Regions from separate parts of the Homo sapiens genome. Here region 2 is linked to region 1. The links are contacts of gene promoters, found by promoter capture Hi-C in human tissues and cell types (Jung and others, 2019). All regions are on one chromosome and are shown on one strand. Each heading gives the region's core, a stretch centred on a gene start or on the middle of the fragment in contact. The rest is flanking DNA. Distances are from core to core; before and after follow the strand shown. Region 1 holds the start of NAT9 (N-acetyltransferase 9). Region 2 overlaps MRPL58 (mitochondrial ribosomal protein L58).

Region 1 (5,604 bases), core at 2,271-4,770:
AGAATAATTCAAGCTAAAGCGAACATCCTTGGAACTCCTGAAGGGGAAAAGAACTCAAAATGAATGGGGCAATAGAGAGCTAAGGAGAGGCTTTGTCTTGTAAATGCGCGTGGGCTGAAGCACACGTATGAATGACCTGCCCCGTGTCTTGGTTTCCCAAGGCAGCCAGGGCAGAGCTCTGCCCACGTTGTCTTGAGCTGGGGCCTGCAGGGGAACTCAGAGCAGCCAGCATCAGCAGTGAGTTAGTTCCACAGCTTATCTGGGTTCAGTGACAACCAACTCTTCTGGTCTTACAGAGGACCAAGAATTGTTCCAGGACGGGGGAGTTAAGGAACCCTTAGGAAGAAGGTGTCTTCTCCCCTCAGAACACTGACCACTACACCTCCTGTTTGATGTCACATCATCCCCTCCCCATCCCACCCCATCTCCTCCCTACATCTCTCTTCACCAGTAGGATAAAACAACACAAGCACTTGTTTATGGCCAATGCCCAGAGCTGGCCCTCTGGGCAACAAAGACCCTGAACGAAATAAAACACAGAGGAGATGGAGAACAAAAACGGGCAGAGCGCACTGAAGCTTGCAGGCCTAACTGCCTCATTTCCTGTGGGCACATGCTGACATGTGAGAGGACCCCTTAAACAACCGGAGATACAAGAAATGGGGACATATCCAAGTGTTTTCCTTACAAAACTTAGTTACAGGGATGACTCATCTCCTTATCTCTAAATTTACAGATGTTGTAAGAAAAAGCAGGAGCCGTGGTGACTTTTACATTAATAGACAGCATAGAGATTTCATCACTGACAGCAGGAGGCTAGGAGCTGTTACATAATTCCACAAATGAGAGGGACACTATTTATTCCATTCCAGGGTTCATGAAAGACTTCACCTGAGAGGCTGGGTGCAGTGGCTCACGGCTGTAATCCCAGCACTTTGGGAGGCTGAGGCGGGTGGATCACCTGAGGTCAGGAGTTCAAGACCAGCATGACCAACATGGTGAAACCCTGTCTCTACTAAATACAAAAAATTAGCTGGGCAGGGTGGTGCATGCCTGTAGTCCCAGCTACTTGGGAGGGTGGGGCAGGAGAATTGCTTGAACCTGGGAGGCAGAGGTTGAACCTGGGAGGCAGAGGTTGCAGTGAGCCGAGATTGCACCATTGCACTCCAGCCTGGGCAACAAGAGTGGAACTCTGTCTCAAAAAAAAAAAAAAAAAAAAAAAAAAGACTTCCCCTGAGAAATTACACAGGTGATGGGTGAAGAAGGCTCCTTTATTGCCACACATGAATGGCACAGGCCCAATAGGAAGACTCTGGAATCAGGAAGGCTTTCTTCCAGCTGTGAAGGAAATGTCTTGGAGACACTTCCTTGTCCATCACACCACAATGCTAGTCTGTGAAGCTAGCAGAAACAGACCAGAGATCCCCAGGCTAGGAAGCTATGTACAAGGCAGGGCAGCTGTTGAAGGCAGGTCAAGTTCTAGAAAACTCTTGCTACTTAGGGCAGTGCTGCTTTTGCCTGGGAGGGTTGGTAGCAACCTGAGTCAACCATCTGATTATTCCAACCCTCTGGCTACTTATCCAGGCAAGAGGGCCCTGTGATGTAACAACTATGACCAATCATACGTTACATAGAGAAGATAAACTGCGTGTGTGTTGGGGGCAGCCAGAGGTAACACAGACCTAAGACAGTGAGAATCAATCATTCTAATTGTTCTAATTGCAGAGTCCACCAAACTGTAATTAGAAGTCTCTGTATGCTTTCGCTGCTTCTTACGCCATCCAAGACTATAAAAGTTGTGCAATTTAAAATTCAGTAAAGACCAAAGCGGTTTCCAACTGCTGAGATGAGCAAAACCCAGAGTCAACAGCTGTCAATCACTGTTCATCTGAAGGGCAGCACTGCAGGCAAGTGTGGTAGCCTGGAGATGAACATTATTTCTTTATTTTTGAGACAGAGTTTCGCTCTTTTTGCCCAGGCTGGAGTGCAACGGCTCGATCTCAGCTCACTGCAACGTCCGCCTCCCGGGTTCAAGCGATTCTCCTGCCTCAGCCTCCCGAGTAGCTGGGATTACAGTGCCACCATGCCCGGCTAATTTTGTATTTTTAGTAGAGACAGGGTTTTACCATGTTGGCCAGGCTGGTCTTGAACTCCTGACCTCAGGTGATCTGCCCGCTTCAGCCTCCCAAAGTGCTGGGATTACAGGCGTGAGCCACCGTGCCCAGCCCGGGATTAACATTATAAACAGCATGGCGATTTTGTTTGGCTTGACCACTCTGACAAACACCTTAAAAAGAGAATAAATCTGACTTACATTCTGAGCCACCACAGCAGCACTGTAGTCGCTGCCCCATGGAACTCCCCCATCCTGCTTCCACTATGGTCTGCTCAAGCAGCAGCACTCACTAGTCCCATCTCCAGCAAGCAATGTGCTTTTCTAGAAGCCAGGAACACTTAAGTGAGCAAAAGGTTCTATAAGTCACACTCACGTAGGAAGAGTAGAGTTCCCCGGTCTCTGTAATTTCACCCGCCATTTCCAAAAGTGAGGAAGGGCTGGCAGCAGAGGTTCCTTAGGTGCAAGGACGGCGGCTGCCGCAGCTCCTTAAAACAAAAGAGCAGGCTTCACCTATCTGATGGACTGAGACAGGGGTGGGAGGAGGCTTGCAGACTTCCCCTGCCACCTCTGGTTCTTTTATCACAGACACTTAGGGCCTCAGTATCTGTCACAAGACTCACCCCCGAGGGAGGGGTCACCCTGGATGACAGAAATCTGGACGGTTTCTTCTAACATTTCCCTTGCTGTGCAGGGCACTGCTCTGTGCCCAGCACGGATGTTTTCAATGCTGCTCGGGGTGCAAGTGATTTAAGGGGCCTCTAAAACCACTAAGTCTCACCCACCACAAGAGCCCCCTTTCCACGCTCTGGGGTGGTTATCCTCGTTTAGTTCCAGGAACCAGGAGCTCACTACCACACATGGGAGCCCAAGGAACTGTCTGCCGCCTCTGCCTAGGGCAGGGAGCTGGGGGCTTTCCTACATTGCCCTTCCAACTCCACTCTTGGCACTAAGGCCTCCTTTTTTTAATGGGGCCTCCACTCCCTGGCCCCACCTACTCTCTTAGGGTTCCCCACCCTCAAAGCTCCCTCTTTTCTCAAGAACCCCACTCCCAGCCTCTCCCTCTCTCTCCCTCCTGGAGGAGTCCCGAGTCTAGTGCCGCCCCGCCCCGCCCCAACCTATCCCGACCCGTCTCGTCCTCTCCCGCCCGTCCCGACCCGACCCGACCCAACACCTGCAGCACAGCCAGCTCCCAAGCCGCCGTCTCCCGCCGGTCCGCTGCTGCCGGCGCCAGCTGTCCAGCACCAGCTTCCGCAGCGCGCATGCGCCGGCCCCACAGCCCACCTTTTTCGCGCGCGCTGATTGGGCGCCTCGCGGGGGCGGGACCGGGATTGGGGCCTGGCGGCTGCCGTCAGCATGGCGGAAGTGGGCGGGGCGCGTTCTCACGCGCATGCGGAAGGGGCGGTAGCCGGCCGGGCCTGGGAACGTGGCTGGTTGGAGGAGGTAGATCACCCTTTCTGCGGGGGACGATTTCGTCGGTGGTAGGTGGGTGTGAGCTTGGCAGTACCCGGGTCCGCGTGGTTGGAGGGTCGAAGAGAGTGGTCTAGAACGCCACTCAAAGGGGAGGGCCTAAGACTAAGCCCGCCTTGCCCTGAAGTGGTCGGGGGCGGGGAGGGAGTGGCTAGAGCCCCGTGGGGTGGTCGCCGGGGTAAGAGGTTGGAAGTAGGTTTAAGGCAGGGCTGAAAGTTGATTCTGGGTTGGAATCCCTGGACTGGGGCAAGTAATGGGAGCTCTGGGGATACTTTGGTACTTGGTACTTGGTGCTTGGGTTTGAGGAATCGAAGTTCTGGGGAGTGGACGGAAGGAACCGGCAGAAACGGAGCCCAGGCTTGGCCTCTTGGAGTGGGAGTCAAGGATTGTTTAATTATCCTTAACCAGCCTGGTTCTCTTTCTTGCAAGAATTTTGGAGTCTGTATTCTTTGAAGTGTCTAGACGGAACTAATGACGGAAGTCAACTTAGCCCCAGCAGGAAAGCTGGAGCGCCTACCCAAAGTTGGAGGAAATTCAGGGTCCTGAAGTCTTTGCTCTCCCCATCTGCATGCAGGCTGCTACCATGAGGTTGAATCAGAACACCTTGCTGCTGGGGAAGAAGGTGGTCCTTGTACCCTACACCTCGGAGCATGTGCCCAGGTATCTTTCCCGCTTGACATGGGGTGCGTATCAGCACCCAGAGCTGTGTAAGGTACAGCCCCAGTCTCAGGGCTATTTCCCCTAAGAAGAAACATTGGTTGTGAGAAATAATTATATATGAGGGGGGAAAAAAGGCTGGGTGCCGTGGCTCACGCCTGTAATTCCAGGACTTTGGGAGGCTGTGGCAGGAGGATTGCTTGAGCCCAGCAGTTCGAGACCAGCTTGGGTAACGTAGCGAGACCTTGTCTCTACAAAAAAATACAAAAATTAGCCAGGCATGGTGGTGCACAGCTGCAGTCCCAGCTACTAGGGAGGCTGAGGTGGGAGGATTGCCTGAGCCCAGGAGATGAAGACTGCTGTGAGCTGTGATTGTACCACTGTACTCCAGCCTGGGTGACAGAGCAAGAACCTGTCTCAAAAAAAAACAAAAAAAACAAAAAAACAAAAACAAACAAAAACAAAAAAACGGCCGGGTGCGGTGGCTCACGCCTGTAATCCCAGCACTTTGGGAGGCTGAGGCGGGTGGATCATGAGGTCAGTAGTTCAAGACCAGCCTGGCCAACATGATAAAACGCCATCTCTACTAAAAACACAAAAAATTAGCTGGGCTTGTTGCCCGGCACCTGTAATTCCAGCTACTTGGGAGGCTGAGGCAGGAGAATCACTTGAACCAGGGAGGTGGAGGTTGTGGTGAGCCGAGATCACACCACTGTACTCCAGCCTGGGCAACAGAGTGAGACTTTGTCTCAAAAATAAAATAAAATAAAATAAAGGCTGGGCGCAGTGGCTCACGCCTGTAATCCCAGCACTTTGGGAGACCGAGGCAGGCGGATCACAAGCTCAGGAGAGCGAGACCATCCTGGCTAACATGGTGAAACCCCGTCTCTACTAAAAATACAAAAAAATTAGCCGGATGTGGTGGCGGGCGCCTGTAGTCCCAGCTACTCGGGAGGCTGAGGCAGGAGAATGTGTGAACCCGGGAGGCGGAGCTTACAGTGAGCCGAGATCGCGCCACTGCACTCCAGCCTGGGTGACAGATCGAGACTCCGTCTCAAAAAAAAAAAAAAAAAGAGACCAGCCTGATCAACGTGGAGAAACCCCGTCTCTAATAAAAATACAAAAAAAATAGCTGGGCATGGTGGCACATGCCTGTAATTCCAGCCTGGGCAACAAGAGTAAAACTCTGTCTCAAAAAAAAAAAAAAAAAAAATAGCAGAACCTGGGGACTGTGACTTCCTTGGGAGGAGCTGCCCATCCTCTTCCCTTTCATTCTCTCAGCTTTTTGGCCTTTCAGCAAGGAATTGCTTTATGTAAACTAAACGTGGAAGAAAAAGAAATTGTCTTCTCACCTAATTGTAAAT
Region 2 (5,593 bases), core at 1,147-3,646, 250 kb before region 1:
GCCTGCCTTGGCCTCCCAGAGTGCTGGGATTACAGTCGTGAGCTACCACACCTGGCACACCTTTTAAATTTAGACTAGACCTTCCAAGTAATAGACCGACTGTTCCTGAGGATAAGGGTCTCCTAACTCCCATGGGGACCTTCTTTGGTGGCTCCCCAGGAAGTGTGTCCGGAATTGGTTCCTTCTGGTGGGTTCTTGGTCTTGCTGACTTCAAGAATGAAGCCGCGGACCCTCATGGTAAGTGTTATAGCTCTTAAAGATGGTGTGTCCGGAGTTTGTTCCTTCAGATGTTCAGATGTGTCTGGAGTTTCTTCCTTCCGGTGGGTTTGTGGTCTCGCTTGACTTCAGGAGTGAAGCCACAGAACTTTGCAGTGTTACAGCTCTTAAAGGGGCACGTCTGGAGTTGTTGGTTCCTCCTGATGGGTTCGTGGCCTTGCTGACTTCAGGAATGAAGCCACAGACCCTCACGGTGAGTGTTACAGCTCATAAAGGTAGTGCAGACCCAGAGGAAGCAGCAGCAAAATTTATTGTGAAGAGCAAAAGAACAAAGCTTCCACAGCATGAAACAGCACCCCAGCGGATTGCCACTGCGGCTTGGGTGGCCAGCTTTTATTCCCTTACTTGGCCCCACCCACATCCTGCTGATTGGTCCATTTTACAGAGAGGTGATTGGTCCGTTTTTACACAGTGCTGATTGGTGCGTTTACAAACCTTTAGCTAGACAGAGTGCTGATTGATGTGTTTACAATCCTTAGGTAGACAGAAAAGTTACCCAAGTCCCCACCCGACCCAGAAGCCCAGTCGGCTTCACCTCTCCTAAGGAGATGGTAATTGTGCTGTAGAGGTCTATGGCAGCACTGCCTGCTGAAGTGGGGGACAATTGTTGCACGTTTGTAAGGGCATGGCTGTGCCTTGGTTTGTTGAGGGGCTCGAGGCAGGCCTCTCTTCCCGTTTCCTGAAAGAGGTTGTCCATCCTTGTTAAATTTAGAATGACACTGACTTGCCCAGTGTTTGCTTTTCTTACACTGGAGACATATACCGGGACTTTTCTGTTGACTGATGGTAGTAATGTTTGCCTTTTGATTTCCTTTTCTACATTCCTTTCTTGGGTGTCCAAATTGACCACAATTAAAGCAAGGGCCTGAGAAATGGGGTATATTCTTTCCTACTCTTAATCCAGCCATAGCCTGAGCTAAAAGAGTTGCCTTATGTAAGTTACCTCCAATGCCATCGCAATCCTTAATATATTTAGCTAAATGAGCCGTCCCTCTCAGGGGTCTAATAGCAGTTTGACACTGCACTAGCATTTTCGTATGCAGGAAGCTGTATTACAACATCCTGAGCCGTTTTATTAGTAATGGCTTTATACACAGCCTCTTGGAGCTGAGCAATAAAATCAATATATGGTTCTTTAGGTCCTTGACGGATAGAACTGACAGAAGGATGTTTTTCGCCTGTAACATTTATCCTTTCCCATGCCCATAAGCACACAAAGCGCAGCTGAACAATGGCAGCATCCTCCATTACTGCTTGATTTCTCTAATCAACCCCAGTTAGGGCCAACTCCCATTAACTGTTCAAAGGAAACAGGCACAGGTGGCTGTGCTTGTATGTTTTCCCCTGCCTGAGTTTGAGCTTCATCAGCCCACCAGGTTTTAAACTGCAAATACTGAGATAGGGTGAGAACAGATTTTGTCAAAGTATCCCAGCCACATGGTATTAATCTATTATCAAGAGCCATATTTTTTAATAGAGTTTGCACAAAAGGAGAGTTCGGTCCGTATTGACTAATGGCTTGCTTAAATTCCTTTAGTAACTTAAAAGGAAAAGTGGCCAATTAGCTGTATTCTGTCTTCTCTGCTGGATGATAGTAACAGGAAATTGCCATGCTTCAAGGTCTCCCTCGGCTCTAGCTTTATGAATAGAATTTTCTATAGCATCACCAATTGCTCCAGGTTTTAATATTGCAACTATAGGAGTAGTAAGTTTTTCAGCTAATTCATCTTCTCACCCATTAAGAGGAGAGAGAGGAGGTGGCCATTCACTTAATTTAGCAGGGGGCGCCGACGGGCTAGTAAAACATACTTTTTTTAGTTTTCCTTTCTTTAATCTCCTCCGGTAGCTGTTCCTCACACTCAGAATCTGAAGTTAGTTTTTTACACTCATCCTCCTCTTCCTCATCTCAATCTGCCTCATCATCTGTTTGAAATGGCTCAAGAGCTGCCTTTATTAGCGCCCACATGACCAAATAGAAACTGGAATATCTGCTCCCTCTTTATACGCCTTTTAAAAATCTCTGCCGATTCTCTCCCATTCATCCAACTCCATAGTCGCTTGTTCCGGAAGCCATGGGCAAAACTGCTTTACTGTACTAAAGAGTGATAACAAATTCTGAGTACTAACTTTCACTCCCCCTCTTCATAATAAATGCCAACAAATTCTGAGTACTTTCACTCCCCCTCTTCGTAATAAATGCCTTAAGAAATTTAAATAAGGCCGGGCGCGGTGGCTCACACCTGTAATCCCAGCACTTTGGGAGGCCGAGGCGGGCGGATCACGAGGTCAGGAGATCGAGACCGTCCTGGCTAACACGGTGAAACCTCGTCTCTACTAAAAAAAAAAAATACAAAAAATTAGCCGGGCGCGGTGGCGGGTGCCTGTAGTCCCAGCTACTCGGGAGGCTGAGGCAGGAGAATGGCCTGAACCCAGGAGGCAGAGCTTGCAGTGAGCCGAGATCGCGCCGCTGCACTCCAGCCTGGGCGACAGAGCAAGACTCCTCTCAAAAAAAAAAAAATAATAAAATAAATTTAAATAAGCAAAATGTCTTTCACTTTATCCCATTGTTACCCTGGTTCTTCCGAGCGCTCAGCTTTCCTGCCGAGCTTCTTTTAGACGCCTTTGGGTGTCCTTTGACGATGTGTTCTCCGCTTTCACACGCTCTAGCGTTCCTTCACCAGGGTCTTTGTCACCCCACGTTGGGCAGCCAGGAATGTTGAGGTGATCAGACCCAACACCAGGTCATGGGGGCAACAAAGTCCGGCGGAGTCAAAGGAATTAGAAAAAGACAGTTTGAGAGAGAAAGTAGCACCAGGAAGCCATCGCCAGTGTTGAGGCTGTGAAGACCCCCAGCTCTGGGAGCCCACGGTATTTATTGGTGCTCAAAGAAACAGGTGGTGAGGATGTGGGGGTTGAAAAGAAAGTGTATCAAGTGAAGGAGAAACATACGGCTGCTTGAGAGAATGGGAGTGCTAGAAGCAAGGAGCCAGCAAGTCTAGCAGACATGCAAGCCCTGCCTCAGCTTCTCTCCCAACACTCAGCTTTTCTCCCAACGCTCAGCTTTTCTCCCAACAGCTTTCTGTTACCCACATCTCTTAAAACCTTTGCCGGGTGCAGTGGCTCACGCCTGTGATACCAGCACTTTGGGAGGCCGAAGTGGGCGGATCACCTGAGGTCAGGAGTTCAAGAGCAGCCCAGCCAACATGGTGAAACCCCATCTCTACAAAAATACAAAAATTAGCTGTGCATGGTGGCATGCACCTGTAACCCCAGCTACTGGGGAAGCTGAGGCAGGAGAATCGCTTTAACCTGGGCGAAGGAGGTTGCAGTGAGCCAAGATCACGCTATTGCACTCCAGCCTGGATGGCAGAGTGAGACTCCATCTCAAAAATAAAAGAACCTAAACTCCTTAACTTGAATTCAAGGCTCTCCACATCAAGCCGGTCTCTCTCTGGGTTCACCTCCCGCTGCAATGGTGGATCACCCTGCACGAATCCACCATTCAGTGCCTTTGCCTTCTTTGTCACCCCCTCCACCTCAGCCTCTTTTGTCTCTTGTGTTCATTGTTCCCTTCAAATGGCATGTCCGCCTCCCGTCTACTGATGAAAGTCCCATGCCTTTTCCATAGCCCGGCTCAAATGCCCACTTACCTGTCTCAGCCCTCCTACCTGGTTGTGTGTGTAGTTTCTTTTTGTTTTGTTTTTGAGACGGAGTCTGGCTCTGTTGCCCAGGCTGGAGTGCAGTGGTGTGATTTTGGCTTACTGCAACGTCACCCTCCTGGGTTCAAGCAATTCTCCTGCCTCGGCCCGAGTAGCTGGGATTACAGGTGCCCACCACCTATTTTAGTAGAGATAGGGTTTCACCACGTTGGCCAGGCTGGTCACCTCAGCCTCCCAAAGTGCTGGGATTACAGGTGTGAGCCACCACGCCCGGTGGTTTTTTTTTTTTTTTGAGACACGGTCTTGCTCTGTCACTCAGGCTGCAGTGGTGCAATTATGGTTCACTGCAACCTTGAACTCCTGGGGGGCTCAAGTGATCCTCCTGCCTCAGCCTCCCAAGTTGCTGGGACTATGGACATGTATCACCACACCTGGCTAATTTTTGTAGTTCTTGTAGAGATGAGATCTTGCTATGTTGCTCAGGCTGGTTTTGACCTCCTGACCTCGTGTGATCCTCCTGCCTTGGCTTCCAAAGTGTTTGGATTACAGGCGTGAGCCACCACGCCTGGCCTGTGTGTTCTTTCACAGCAGACACCAGAACCCTTTCCTGTTCCCCAGTGCTGTGTCGATAACTGTGCGGCTGATTTAACTGAGAGAAAAGGTAGGAATTGTTTTCTGAAGCATTCTGAATGAGAAGGGAAGCCTAATGAGTTCTGATTTTTATTGTGACTAATACATGAGGTGCATTATTAAGGTTTGACAACATGGTGACTGCCTATAAAGACGTCTGCAACCAGTGCCTGCAGCCTTCATTCCAAATGAACATTCTTGTGATGGCTCCAATGTTATAGACAAGCATTAACAGCCAAAAAGAAAAACAGAAATCTCCTTATGGTGTGAAAGTCCTCTCAGCTGCAGCTGCCCGGACGCCCAGAAGAGCCCTCCCAGCTGCAGAGGGTGATTTCAGTCCATGTCGACCCTCCTGCTTGTCTTTACAGCAGAATGAATTCTCTTTTGTCTCAGCCTTTCCCGATTCATGTTTTCTATCCTGAAAACAAAAAGACTGCAATTAGCCCCAGATGCCCAATCAGTGCTTTTCAAAGTGGTGAGAGGAGTTGGGAGCTCAACGGGAAGCCGAGCAGTTACACCAGCAGGCACTAGCCCGCAGGCCTCGGTCCCAGGTCAGCATCCTCTCCTCTTCCTAGAGTTTCTCCCAAGGCCGGCCTTGGACTCTCCCCTGCCCCTTCCTTACCTGTGTAGACTCTTGTCCACACAAATCAGTTTATAGCATCTTAGGGCATTTCCTGGTACCTGATTCTATGAAGTTTAACATCTTCTTTTGTTGGCTCCTTCGGTGTCTGGCTGGCCTCAGTGATCATGTCTCGAATTTTCTGCAGGCAATCTGCCAGATTCCGGAACTGATAGCGGCTGCTCTCAGAGGTGAGGATCAACTCTCCTAACCTGTTGATCTTGTTTTTATGCTGCAGAGAACAAATGAAAAACTGGAGTCCTACAGAGTAAAGGTTTAAAAGCCACTGAGGGATTTCTAGGGAAAGAAAGGGATGGTGGTTACCGTGATGGCTATCTTCTGCCGCACGGGCTCCGCGATCCACTCGGCAGTTGCCAAATGGAACCTGACTTCTGCCTTGGAATTCACT

Evidence for each region. The method cuts DNA at HindIII sites, captures the fragments that hold promoters and counts their contacts. A contact is called where the count stands out against the background at its distance.
Region 2: a fragment that was not itself captured here is called in contact with the fragment with the promoter of NAT9 in region 1 in 1 of the 25 tissues and cell types used here (hippocampus).

Annotation. Positions count from the first base shown.
Region 1 is chr17:74,774,261-74,779,864 of GRCh38, reverse strand. NAT9 (N-acetyltransferase 9) reads left to right here and starts at 3,520. Exons shown (of 7, transcript NM_015654.5): 1 at 3,520-3,598; 2 at 4,158-4,243. The coding sequence starts at 4,167. It overlaps SLC38A12 (solute carrier family 38 member 12), which reads right to left and starts at 3,366. Exons shown (of 10, transcript NM_017728.4): 1 at 3,288-3,366; 2 at 2,490-2,601. The coding sequence starts at 2,534. RefSeq lists an enhancer at 3,719-3,838. The HindIII fragment of the contact is 11,963 bases long and covers 1-5,604 here.
Region 2 is chr17:75,020,311-75,025,903 of GRCh38, reverse strand. It overlaps MRPL58 (mitochondrial ribosomal protein L58), which reads right to left. Exons shown (of 6, transcript NM_001545.3): 4 at 5,509-5,591; 5 at 5,247-5,416; 6 at 4,643-4,983. The coding sequence ends at 4,899. Among named protein-coding and RNA genes, the nearest start is that of MRPL58, 10 kb to the right of the region's middle. RefSeq lists a silencer at 556-713 and an enhancer at 4,877-5,593. The HindIII fragment of the contact is 7,781 bases long and covers 1-5,593 here.